Regions from separate parts of the Homo sapiens genome. Here regions 1, 2 and 4 are each linked to region 3. Evidence: promoter capture Hi-C in human tissues and cell types (Jung and others, 2019). All regions are on one chromosome and are shown on one strand. Each heading gives the region's core, a stretch centred on a gene start or on the middle of the fragment in contact. The rest is flanking DNA. Distances are from core to core; before and after follow the strand shown.

Evidence for each region. Contacts are between HindIII fragments. The study calls those that stand out against the background at their distance.
Region 1: a contact is called between a fragment that was not itself captured here and the fragment with the promoter of MEDAG in region 3, in 3 of the 25 tissues and cell types used here (IMR-90 fibroblasts, aorta and dorsolateral prefrontal cortex).
Region 2: a contact is called between a fragment that was not itself captured here and the fragment with the promoter of MEDAG in region 3, in 3 of the 25 tissues and cell types used here (H1 embryonic stem cells, dorsolateral prefrontal cortex and mesenchymal stem cells).
Region 4: a fragment that was not itself captured here is called in contact with the fragment with the promoter of MEDAG in region 3 in 2 of the 25 tissues and cell types used here (aorta and dorsolateral prefrontal cortex).

The regions. Positions count from the first base shown.
Region 1 is chr13:30,806,934-30,809,843 of GRCh38, forward strand. All of the region lies in intron 1 of LINC00398 (long intergenic non-protein coding RNA 398), which reads left to right. Among named protein-coding and RNA genes, the nearest start is that of LINC00398, 5.2 kb to the left of the region's middle. The HindIII fragment of the contact is 6,903 bases long and covers 1-2,910 here.
Region 2 is chr13:31,029,491-31,032,807 of GRCh38, forward strand. No RefSeq gene overlaps it. Among named protein-coding and RNA genes, the nearest start is that of LINC01066, 35 kb to the left of the region's middle. The HindIII fragment of the contact is 6,324 bases long and covers 1-3,317 here.
Region 3 is chr13:30,904,874-30,908,034 of GRCh38, forward strand. MEDAG (mesenteric estrogen dependent adipogenesis) reads left to right here and starts at 1,398. Exons shown (of 5, transcript NM_032849.4): 1 at 1,398-1,920. The coding sequence starts at 1,643. The region is part of intron 2 of TEX26-AS1 (TEX26 antisense RNA 1); the gene reads right to left. RefSeq lists an enhancer at 1,999-2,500. The HindIII fragment of the contact is 12,319 bases long and covers 1-3,161 here.
Region 4 is chr13:31,006,339-31,009,232 of GRCh38, forward strand. No RefSeq gene overlaps it. Among named protein-coding and RNA genes, the nearest start is that of LINC01066, 12 kb to the left of the region's middle. The HindIII fragment of the contact is 4,413 bases long and covers 1-2,894 here.

The sequences.
Region 1 (2,910 bases), core at 190-2,689, 98 kb before region 3:
GGCATGGCTACTTCTAAGGACTAAAAATAGTCACGTTGTCCTGACTTCCTTTTCCTCTTGGCAGAATCAGAGCCTGAGTCATGTATGATCTTTCACGGAAGAACATGCCTTTGCACTACAAGTGGTATTTTTTCTCTCAAAAAATAAATTTGTATAAATATATTTTTTTCTAACAAATGCTGTTATAAATGCACCAGGAAAATTTATTTTCAAAAACTGCCCTAAAGCTAACACTTTAAAATTGTATTCTTGTTTGTTTTTACTCAATAAATATTAAGTGCTTATCATATGCCATGCACTAGTCTAGTTGCTTTTCTGGACCTTTGATTTTAGAACAAGCACTTTTTTTTTCTTTTCCTGAGAGCTGAGGTCTCACTATATTGTCCAGGCTGGACTTGAATTCCTGGGCTCAAGTGATCCTCCTGCCTCAGCCTCCTAAGTAGCTGCGAACACAGGTGTGCACCACTGCACCTAGCTAGAACAAACACATCTTTTAAAGGAGCAAACTAGTTTCAGAGTGTTAAGGTGGAAAGTGGCTGGCTAGAGGAGTGGGGCTGGGGGTGTTTCCAGAGACAGACTCGCTGGGGAGGCCTTTCAGAGCAGATGAGAGTTGAGCCGTGAATGCCCAGGCAGGGCCAGCCACATAAATGTAGAGTAGTAAAGTAGTTTAGGCAGCAGTGCAGCAAGTGCAAAGGCACTGGGGTAGGGATACAACTGAGTGAGCCCAAGGAATAGAGGGTGGCTGTGGCTGGGGCAGAGTGAGGAAATACCATTAAAGAGATTAGCAGGCCAAGTAAGGCGGGGCTCTGGGTGCCAGAATGAGCCGAAAGGTTTCATTGTAAATGCCCTGCAGAGCTTTTAAAAGTTTTTAAGCTAGGAAGTAACTTGCTCTGATTTGTGGTTTATAGAGCTCCTTTGCTGTCAAGGAGTTGCTGCAAAACAGTACACAGAAAATGGAACAGTGAGGAGGGGTGTAGCTGAAACGAGACTGGCCATGAGTTGATAAGTATTACAGTTGGGTATCTGGGTATATTTTGTGTATGCTTGAAAATTCTTAGAACAAAAGTTTCAAAATAACTCTTTTTTTTTTTTTTTTTTTTTTTTTTGAGATTGAGTCTTGCTCTATTGCCCAGACTGGAGTGCAGTGGTGCGATCTCAACTCACTGCAATCTCCACCTCCCAGGTTCAAGGAATACGCCTGCCTCAGCCTCCCAAGTAGCTGGGATTACAGGCACGCACCACCACACCTGGCTAATTTTTGTTTTTTGTATTTTTAGTAGAGATGGGATTTCACCATGTAGGCCAGGCTGGTTTTGAACTCCTGACCTCAAGCGATCCTCCTTCCGCAGCTTCCCAAAGTGCTGAGATTACAGGCGTGATCCACCATGACTGGCTTCAAAGTAACTTTTTATACAGCAAAGGAAAAAATGGAAACAGAACCCTTTAAACGGCACACAAACAAAATAAAATAATAGCCGAACACTCTCTTTGGCTGCTCTGTGGAGAACAGATCATGGAAGGATGGGTGGGAGGAGGACATTCAGCTAGAAGGATTTTGCAATAGTTCAGGCAACACATGGCAGGAGCTTGGTCTGGGGGTAGCAGAGTCCATGAAGTAGGTGTGGGATGGTTTGGAGATGAAGCCAGTTGGACTTGCTGATGGACTGTGTGTTGGGGTGATGGAGCCTGGGGGTGGGAGAGGGGATTGACACAAGTGACCAAAGGCAAGTTATCATCTCCAAACGTGCCTTTTGCCACTAGATGGGACTGTCATCTACTGAACTGCATTAACTAGCTTGATTAGCTGGAGAAAAGGTATTAATCATGTTTTTCATTTTTTGATGCTTTGACATCTTGGGTGTCGAACATGGAAATGTCACATGATGGGAGGGCCCTTGAGTCATCCCTCCAAGGAAAACTGCATGACCTAAAATATTCATATTGAACTTTGCATGAGTGAGAAATAAACTTTCAGTGGCTTAATTTAAGCTTCTGAGGTGTGGGGGTTATAGATTCCAGCAATTGGCCTATTCTGACTGATGCAACTGCCTGCTCCAAGTGGACAGAAATCTCATGGATAATTGAAATAATAAGTAATTCCCAAATGATAGTTTAGCCAGTTAATGAGAAGCAAATTACTCCTTCTGCCTACTGTATGTTAAGGGTTGTTAATGAATATCAAAATGACCAGAAGACTGGGAACAAAAGGGGGGAGGAGAAATGAAGGGCCTTGAAAAATGTGTTTACTGACCAGCCAAGCCCTGAGAACATCACTTAGCCAATCTATAGAGGGAGCTGAGAATAAGAAAATAAACTTTAACATAGTGAGTCCTGAATCAGTTATTCATTCATTCTTTTTTTTGAGACAGAGTCTTGCTCTGTCGCCCAGGCTGGAGCGCAGTGGCATGATGTCAGCTCACTGCAACCTTTGCCTCCTGGGTTCAAGCGATTCTCTTGCCTCAGCCTCCCTAGTAGCTGGGATTACAGGCACATGCCACCAAGCCCGGCTAATTTTTGTATTTTTAGTAGAGAAGACATTTCCCCATGTTGGCCAGTCTGGTCTCAAACTTCTGACTTCAGGTGATCCACCCGTTTCAGCCTCCCAAAGTGCTGGGATTACAGGCGTAAGCCACTGCACCCAGCCTCATTCATTCAATAAGCATGTAGCGAACACCTACTGTGTGCCAGGCACTGTGCTAGATGCTGGATATACTGTGGAAAATAAATTTTACATGGTACCTGTCCTGAAAGAAATTATAATCTAGTTGTGGAGATAGAGACAAAAATGAATGAATGAAACAGTAAGTGAAACAACTGTAAGTTGGATCAGGGGCTATGAAGGAGTCAGACTAAGGCTTGAGATAGCACAACCAAGGGAGATTGACTTTAATGGGGAGCAGGGGACTAAGG
Region 2 (3,317 bases), core at 209-2,708, 120 kb after region 3:
TTCTTTTTTTTTCTCTTTCTTTCTTTTTTTCTCTTTCTTTCTCTTTCTTTCTTGTTAAGCTTGTAGACACACCCAATAGAAAATCAGTTTGAAACAGCACTTATAACCCATTATAACTCCCACAGGCTGGGCACATATATGTGCAGGAAGGGGCTGGTGGGGGGGGGGTTGTCCCTATGTCACCCTAAAACCTCACTGAAGGGTGACTGGCTCATTCCTTACCTATTTCTGGCTAAGCAACCAAAGCATAAGCTTTGTGTTTTATCTCCATTTCATCTCGCCATCCCTTCTCACACCCAGGCCTAAACACTTAGAGTAATATTAGAACCAACTTGGTATTTATCATAATACCCTGGGAGAGTCGAGTTCTGGTGAGAACCATGATCGCTAGTTTCATGGGCTGAAGGCTCCAGGGAGCACTAATCATGGTGTCTGAGTGCATTTGTAGGAGCACATTGTAAACTAATTACCACGTGTGGCGCTCACTCTATCATTACCTTTAATATATGATTTCAAATACAATACAACTCCTATTTTGTTGCTTTCACAGTGCTGCAGACTCCAAGGCATGCCTCAGCCTTAAAAATTTTTGATAAAAAATAAACAAAAAGGCAAGAGTGTTTTTGATAAGTGATAAATGTACCTGCCTAATAGAGCTCTTGGATCATAAGAAGGCATTCAACAACTACTTTTTGAATAACAAATAAATACATTAAAAAATAAGTAATTTTTTATCCCAGCCTGACCTACTGCTAATTTGTCTGCTAACCAGGGCAAGACATTGCCCTATTTGAATATAAAATAAACTAACAACAACAGAAAAAAATATTTACTTTCCTAGGGGACATGACATCAACCTAATCCAGAGGATTTGTTGCAGTAAAAACTTAAAATTTTAGAGCATTTTCTTAAAAAACATATGCGTGAGAAACCAAATAGACACTGGCTTCACTTCTAAATTAGACACATTTCTCTTCTGTTCTGTGTCAAAAGGATGTTTGTATCTTGAGTCCTACTTGGCTATGAAATGAGCTCTAAAATAGATTTTTAAAACACTGCTTTCTCAGGATGTCCACCTGAGGGAGGCAGACAAGCCAACCCACCTTGGCATGTGGGGACTCGGAGCTGGGTAGAGATTTGCAGTGGGTGTGAGGGCACCCAGAGAGGGGGCACACCACTTCAGACTGGGGGAGCGATGGGGGATGTCAGCAAAGCCCTCCCAGGGCAGTCACGGTGGGGCTACAGGACAATAGGGAGGCAGGCTGAGGGACAGAAAGGACATTTCAATTCATAGGAGCCAAATAAGCATGGTGGGTAGCAGCGGGCATAGGGCTGGAAGGGGGCTGGGAGGCATTGAATTCTTTGGAGAAGCTGACTTATTTTGGAGTAAAGGGCCCCTTTGAAGGAAAGAAACATGAGGAGATCAGAAAAGACAGTCAGAGTTTGCTAATGAAAAGTCATCTATGCCCCTGCCAAGGACTTTGTTCTGCAGCCTAAACACTGTGCAGATTCTAAATAGATGTCTAAGGATGCTCACGCTGGTGGGGATTGGGGGATGGATTAGACGGGAGACAGACAGACTGATAGGGAGAGTATTGCAGACATTCAGGGGCCTGAGGTTCCTCATCTGCAAAATGAGGGGTTTCTTTTGAGGACTCAATGAATGAACAAACATAAAAGCCCATTAGCTAGTGACTGGCATACAGTAAGTGCTCAGTAAATAGTAACAATTGTTATTATGATCCAGATAAGAAATGCTGAAGGAACCACGAAAGGCTGAAACAGCAGCTGGGGTAGAGAAGGAAACAATTCCGGAGCTTTTCAGGAGGTTGGGTCAGCTGGATTTGTTACTGGCTAGAGGTGCAGGGCTGAGGGCCAAGGGGCCAGAGGTCACTCCAGGTCTGGGTGGCCCATGAGGCCATTGAGCTGTGTTCAGTTTAGGTGAGATGAGCTTTAAGATTCCTTCCATTTTTTCTTCTACCCCTCATCCTCTCTCCAACACCATACCCACCACAGTAGCAGAGAAGGGCCAGGAGAGAGGACAGGATCCCAAAAACGACACTACTCCCCACCCCTTCCCCTTTGGCCTACCTGGGGATGTCCTCAGCTGTCTGCCTTTGCCTTTTTGTTGGCCCTTCCTGAAGTGCTGTAGACCTCAGTTCCACTTAGCCAACATTCATTCAGCATGCTGTGCGCACCAGACCTCACCGAGTTCAAAGGCCGAGTGAGGAGTGGAGATTAGAGAAGTAAAGAGAGGGCATGAGTACAGCTGGAGTACACATGCAAGCCTGCAACGGAGGTGCTTTAAACTTCAGTGGGCCCTTGAGACCCCCAGGCAGTCACCTACCACTCCTGAGTGTGCTCATGCCAAGTCTATAGTTCCGCTTTTCCTCCTTTCTTACCAAATCCCCAACAATCCTGCTTTCATCTTCCTCTAAGCTGTTGGCCTCATTTCCCACCTCATTGGGAACATCAAAACCATCCAGCAGGAACGTCCACTGGCTTCCACTCCCCCACCCCCCACCCCCACCCCCCGCTGTGCCTACCAGCACCCAGATCACGGACTCCGGTTGGCTATACCAGATGGCCTTTCCACGTTGCATCCACAGCAAATCTCTCCACTCGATCTCAGATCCCAGCGTCTCCCGCCCACTCAAGGGAGCCCTCTTGCAAATCTCCCTTCACTTTCCCTCCTTTCCACTCTCTACTGCCTCCTTCCCACTAGCTAATTAAAATGCTGTTGTTTTTCCCTTATTAAACAAACAAAATTCTTCTCTATCTCCCTTTTTTCAGCCAGCCATTGTCCCGTTTCCTTGTAGCACAACTTCTTAAAAGGATCAGAATCATCCATACGCCGTCTCCCCTGTCTACTCCCGCCACTCCCCTGCCCCCTCTGCCAGGCAGTTCTTTCCAGGGCCTCCAACAACACCATGTTGAAGGTCCGCTGTCAGTTCTCTGAGCTCCTCTCATGAGAACCATCATTTGATCTAGCTGATCCTTGCTAGTTCCTCTCCTTCTCCCTGACCTCTTATCCTTCGAGCGTCTTGGCTTCCATCCTGGTTCTCTTCTCCATCTACACTCATGCCCTCTGGTGATCTCCAGATAACCACCGGTATGCAGGTGGTTCCCATGGTTGTATCTCTAGCGCAGATCTTTCTCCCAGGTTCCAGGCTCATATCCAACTCTCTTCTCACTGTCTCCACTTTGAAGTCTGCCAGGCATGTCCAAGCCCGCAGCAGTGACTGTGGATGGAGGTCCCTTCCGGCCTGCACTCTGCCCCCGACCATGCTCCTCAAGGAGCTCCTGTTACAGCCCAC
Region 3 (3,161 bases), core at 148-2,647:
TTTAACTGCTGGCACCAAATCCCTCCCCTGTGAAAACAGCCCCAGCCTCTGAGTCCTGTCTACAGTCTCAGCCCACCCCAGACCCATTCTCTTTGCAGGGATCCTCAAACCTCCCTTTGCAAGAAGATCTTCTGGATGCTTTTTTCACAGGTAGAGCATCCTTCCTGCGCCACAAAAGGTTGAGTGGGTAGTGATCAATTCATGCTCAGTGAATTAGATTTGTTCAGAGAGGCCCAGAGATGGGGTAATGATCCCATGGGTAAAAGATCCATGTCTGGAGAAAGGATAGGTGTGCACCTAGAAGAAGAGAAGAGAGTGGGGCTCATTTATATTCTGAGATTTAAATGAGATGTGGCGGGAGGACTCTTCATCCCATCTGATTAAACCTACACAAGAGTTCATGTGGGGGCACACAAAGACTAACTAAGGATATTCTCTACGTTCTACTCAACTTTTGGGATGTAGCTTAGAATCCTAAAACACAGTACTACAGAAAGCCTCGAAACTAGGCTAGATTCTCCTCCCATCCCATCCAGGCTTCTCCGCAGCAGAAATAGGTGTTTAATTAAATGGAATAATATAGTTCTCCTTTCATACCTCAGGAGATCAATGAGCCCATAGCTAGCACTCACATATTTATAGACTGAAGAAATGAACATATTCTGGGGCTCAAGGAGATCACCACCTACTGGGGAGGCAGGGGAGAAGGGAGGATGCTAGGACCCTGCTATCCCCACTACACGGCACATTGCAGTCTAGGGTTCACCGTGCAGTAGAAAGGAGAAGCAAAGCGATGAAACCCTCGTGGGATTCGTGAAGGCTTTATGGAAAAGCGATGTGATGATCAGTGGGATTTCTAGGGGGAAGGGATCCAGGGCCAGCAACCAGCTGAAGGAAAGGCTGAAAGGAGGGAAATGCAGGGTACGATCTGGATGGAGTTAAAATGGCAGAAAACTGAGGCTGAGTGAGAGGTCTGGTACTGAGGTGGGGATCGGAGTTCCAGCACTGGCCTTTGACAGCCTCTGGGTCCCAGGTGGAATGGGTAGGGCCAGAGCCCTTGCCTTCTTCTCCAATCAACACCAGGGGTGTGGTGTCTTAGGCAAGGATGGGTGCTGTGCGCCCTGCCGCCCACCATAGGCAGGGCCTGGGAACCCGGGGAGGACTCTCCCCACCTCCAGCCTCCGGCAGTGTCCGCCAGGCAGGGCGGGGGCCAGCGCTGGTGTTGAGTAGTGGACCCCAGGGGGATGACTAAGCCTTGCCTGCGAGCAGACTCGAGCATGCCAAGTTATGAGACGATGATAACTCTGCCCCGAGCCTCTGGGGTCGTGGCCGTGGGCCGGCAGGGGCGAGGCGGGCGTCCAGAGGGCGGATAAAAGGGGCCGCGCTGCGCCGGGGCCGCTTTCTCCGCGCGGTGCCTGCAGGGCTCCCAGCGAGTGGCAGCTTGGGAGGGGCCGCCCGGGCGGTCAGACTGGCACCTGAGCGGCCACCGCGTCCCGGCCAGGCGGGCAGACCGACCCCCTCCTCACCTCGCGCGCGGCTGACGCAGGCAGGGCGCCCGGCCCCTCCTGGGGACCATCAGGTGCCGGCTGGGGGCTGTAGGCACCGGACGGAAGCAGGCGGTGTGAGGACCGACGACGCGGGCATGGCGGGGGCGGCCTGCGAGCCGGTGGCCAGGCCGAGCCTGACCTCCATCTCGTCTGGGGAGCTTCGCAGCCTGTGGACCTGCGACTGCGAGCTGGCCCTGCTGCCGCTGGCTCAGCTGCTGCGCCTGCAGCCCGGTGCCTTCCAGCTGAGCGGCGACCAGCTCGTGGTGGCCAGGCCCGGGGAGCCGGCGGCGGCGCGGGGGGGCTTCAACGTCTTCGGTGACGGCCTCGTGCGCCTCGACGGGCAGCTCTACCGCCTCAGCAGCTACATCAAGAGGTGGGTGGCCTCGCCGTGCGCCCTGGCCCGTCGCCTGGTACCCGCAGACGCCTCCACCCGGCTGCGGTCTCTGGGAGCCTGGGCTGTCCTCGCTGCCTGCGACACCGCGTGGCCCCTTGCTCCGTGCGCTTCTAGACTTTCCTTCTGCTTCTATCACCCGGAGCCTGCACGCTCGCCCTGGTTCTTCTGCCTCTTGCACTGACATTTTGCAGCTGCTGCTTGAAGCCGCCCAGAAGGGCATCAGGACTGGGGGCGAGGGGGAGGGCAGGGGCCCCCCAGCCAGAGCTCATGAGTGGCAGATGCTTCTCCCATTCTGGCTCCTTAACTGGGTCAGATGAGCTCAAATTGGGAGCACACCCTTTAGGGGCTGTCTGCAGCTCTGCAAGACTCACATCCTGGCTTTGGAGCATGGGTGGCGGTGAGGAGCAGGGGGCATGCACCATTCTGAGCACTGCCAGCCCTCTCCAGTGAGGAGACCGAGTGGAGAAGCATGCAAAAGCTCAAAGTTTCCCATCTCTGGCCTCACTTCGTGTTTCAAAAGTAAACAAATAAACCGCAGCTGAGAAGGGAACAAAGCCCCTGGAAGTCCAGCCCGGGGCCATGTGGGCTGTGGAAGGCACAGATAAGTTCTGGGGAAATAAGTGCGAAACCTGAGGGCCTTAATGGGAAGGAGGCCCCCAGGATGCTTGACTGTTGTGGCCAGAGTGCCCCCAAGCTCTTCTTGGCAGACCGGCAGGATGTGGCCCAGCCATCTGAAGCAGGCTTTGGTGCCACAGGGTAAAGGAGGGCACTTCAGGCCTGATTCCACATGGCCTCAGGCCTCCAGAGTTCACTCTTGGCAAGGGCCTGGAGTGCAAAGACCTGTTATATTTGTGCTGAGAGAGCCAAGTGCCTGAAGAGGCAAGCATGGTCTAGAGTTTGACTCAGAAATGAATAAGATAGCCAGCTTTTGAGACACAGCGCCTTTGCTACTGGGAAAGACAGCGTGCTGTGGCACCCTGTGGGTAGGAGGGAGCCAAGAGAGGGAAGCAAACAAAATGAGATATTGAACGTGCAGTCTTCAAAACTCTTGGAGAAAAAACCTTGCTTTTCCAAAGATAGTGAGGGCTCTGAATGCCTGAAGAACCATTCCCCAGCAAGAATTTCTCCCTTTCTTAGTGAAATGAAAATTCCAATTCCAAACCATAAGCGGAGGACTGTGGGAGGAACTGAGTCAGATGTGTGCAGATTTAAAAAGAAGA
Region 4 (2,894 bases), core at 203-2,702, 100 kb after region 3:
GGGTTTTTTCCTTTTCCCTTAGTGACCTGTGCAAATAATATAACAAAAGAGGCTTTCCTGAAGGCAGGGATCTTCATACTGTGGGTGAGATCAATGGGTCAGAAAATTGATTTACTGGAATATGACTGGCATCTAAAATACTGACCAACAGTTACTGTCAAAGTGCAGCTTCCAGCATAAGCATAAGCAGTGCGAAACTTTTGTTTCCAAGTGAAGATGGAGTCATTTGAGTCCTGTGAAATGGTCACAGTCAAGGAAGTCTGAAACCCGTTACCCTGTGTGTGATGCACTTTCAAGCATGGTGGAGCCTCAGGAGGAATCTATTGCTGGTCCCCTCTCAAGTTGGGGCACACAGAAGTCATCTGTGTTGGCTCCACTTCAACCTTCCCATTCCCAGCAAGTCTTTTTTCAGTCTGCTGGGATAATGTAGGAAGTTTTGGCAGCTGTCAGAGGATGACAGAGCTTTATGGGGCATACTTCATGGCTGAGAGTGAGTTTTTAACTGAGGCCAACCTGGGTTTTTTGTTTTTTTGGGTTTTTTTTTTTTTGCACTTTATTTATCAACTAGATACAATACAATATTGAGCTTTTTTATTGCTATTTATTTATCAACTAGCCTTATTTATCAACTAGATACATAATAAACTGTGCATATTGAATGTATACAATTTGATGAATTTGGACATATGCATACACCCATGAAACCATCATCACAAAAAAAGTAATAAACATATCCACTACCTCCAAAACTTTCCCTATGCCGTGTGTGTGTGTGTGTGTGTGTGTGTGTGTGTGTGTGTGTGTTAAGAGCACTTACTATGAGATATACCCTATTAACAAAATTGTAAGTGCATTCAGTATTGATGACTTTGGTAGTATCGTTGGCTATAGGTGCAATGCTATACAGCAGATCCCTAGAACTAATTCATCTTGCATAACTGAAACTTTATAGAGGTTCCTCAAACAATTAAAAATAGAACTACCATATGATCCAGCAATCCGACTTCTGAACGTATACCCAAAAGAACTGAAATCAGGATCTCAAAGAGATGTCTGCACACCCATGTTCGTAGCAGCACTGTTGACAATAGCCAAGATATGGAAATAACTCCACCTGGTTTCCATCCTTTGCTAATTGGGTTAGCCAGTCTGGGGACTGCAGTTACCCAAGCCATATTGCTTGTGACTGGACTATGTTTGGTGGGGTGTCTCTGAGGCCCGAGGCTCCCCATTGCCAGCTTGGAATAGTGACAGGATCTGAAGCTCCCAGCGTGAGGTGTGTGTGAGCTGGTGCAGGATCCAGTCTGTGTGGGAGGACGTGGGATGATGCCTCTTCAAAGTAAAAAGTGATGGCCTCAGTGGCACACATTTAAATTCGCTGCAGGAAAATAAGCACACAGCAGCTATTTTTAATTTGCCTTAGAACATGCAAGAGCCAGCATTGCTCATAGAGCAAAATATTGGCTTTGGATAGAGGAGATGAAGAGTTTCTGAGTTTCACTTCTCACTTCTTTGCTGAGAGACACTGGGAAAGAGCTCAGGGAAGACAGCAAGTGGCTGAACTGGGCCATTTGTGAGCCGGTACGAGTTCACCTTCAGTGTCGCCACACTCCTTTCATCTCTGAGGACCCCAAGCTTGTTCCCCTAGCACCGCAGGTCAACTCCTTCATATAGTACTGTTCCCTCTCTCAAGGTCTGCTCCCAGGCAAAGTTCTGGAAGTTGTTTTCTCAATCTGGTGTAAAAGACTGATAATAGCTTGCACGTACCTTTGCAGACGTTTTTGTATTTCGACAAGGCTGAACACCTTAATGCCAAGCTGTGCTGCTCCAGTTGGCCTGCCCGGCACATCAGTGGGCAGCGTGTCTGTAAGGGGAGGGGCCTTTCCTGACACAGCTGGAGCACAGCATGTAGTAGCTGTTTATTCCACCTCGGCAGACAGTCAGATTTAGTTGACACTACTTAGAATTAGATTTTTAAAGCTGGAAAGAACCTGGTCGAATTTCCTTCCATTAAAGATAAAGAAACAGACCTGGAGGCCTGATGTCACTTCAGTTCAATTCAACAGGTGTTTTCTAAGCACCTACTGTGTGCCAGACACCAGCCTGACATAAGAGAAGCAATGAGTGATATGATACGGCACTTGGCCTCCGTCTTCCCACCCTCACACGGTCAGGCGGGGCAGATGCAGGACTGCATTCTTGCTTCTGCAGGCAGGTGCACTAAGAGTGGGCAGACAGACCACCAGTAGGGCCAGTGTTGGAAATCATTCTTCAATTTGCTAGAACTGTGAAGAATGACTCATACAGCACTCCCAGAAGGGTACCGTCATTGTCATATCTCTGAAATCTTGGGAAATAAAGTTAGATCTCAAATGTAGGGATTAGGGACACAAACCCAGGAAGTTCATAACTGTAAACTTCTCTCAATTCAGTTGAATTCAACAAACATTTGTTGAGTGCTTATTTGTGCCCATTACTGAGAAGGGTACCAAGAGCACAGAAAATACCTGTTGAATTGCTAACATAAGAAAGTCTTGTGGCAAAGCGTGATGTGGTTTTCAAACTGCAGCTCTCTGCCCCCTAGTGAGTCATGACATCAGCTTAGTGTATAGTAGACACAACTTAGGCGTAGAGAAAAGGAAATAGAATAGAAAAAAATAAGAGCACTTTACACAAATTAAAGGTCAATAGTGTTTCACAAAATATGGTGTATATGTGAGTGTGTGTATATAATCAATAGCATGTGTGCATATATATGTTTAACAGATTCTTACTGAGGATTATGATATAAGAGAAAATTTGTAAGTCATGATTTACAACACATACCATAGGAAGAGGTGATGCTTCAGGCTATGTGCCTGTGGTAGAACCAACTAGAATGTAAGTTAATAGAC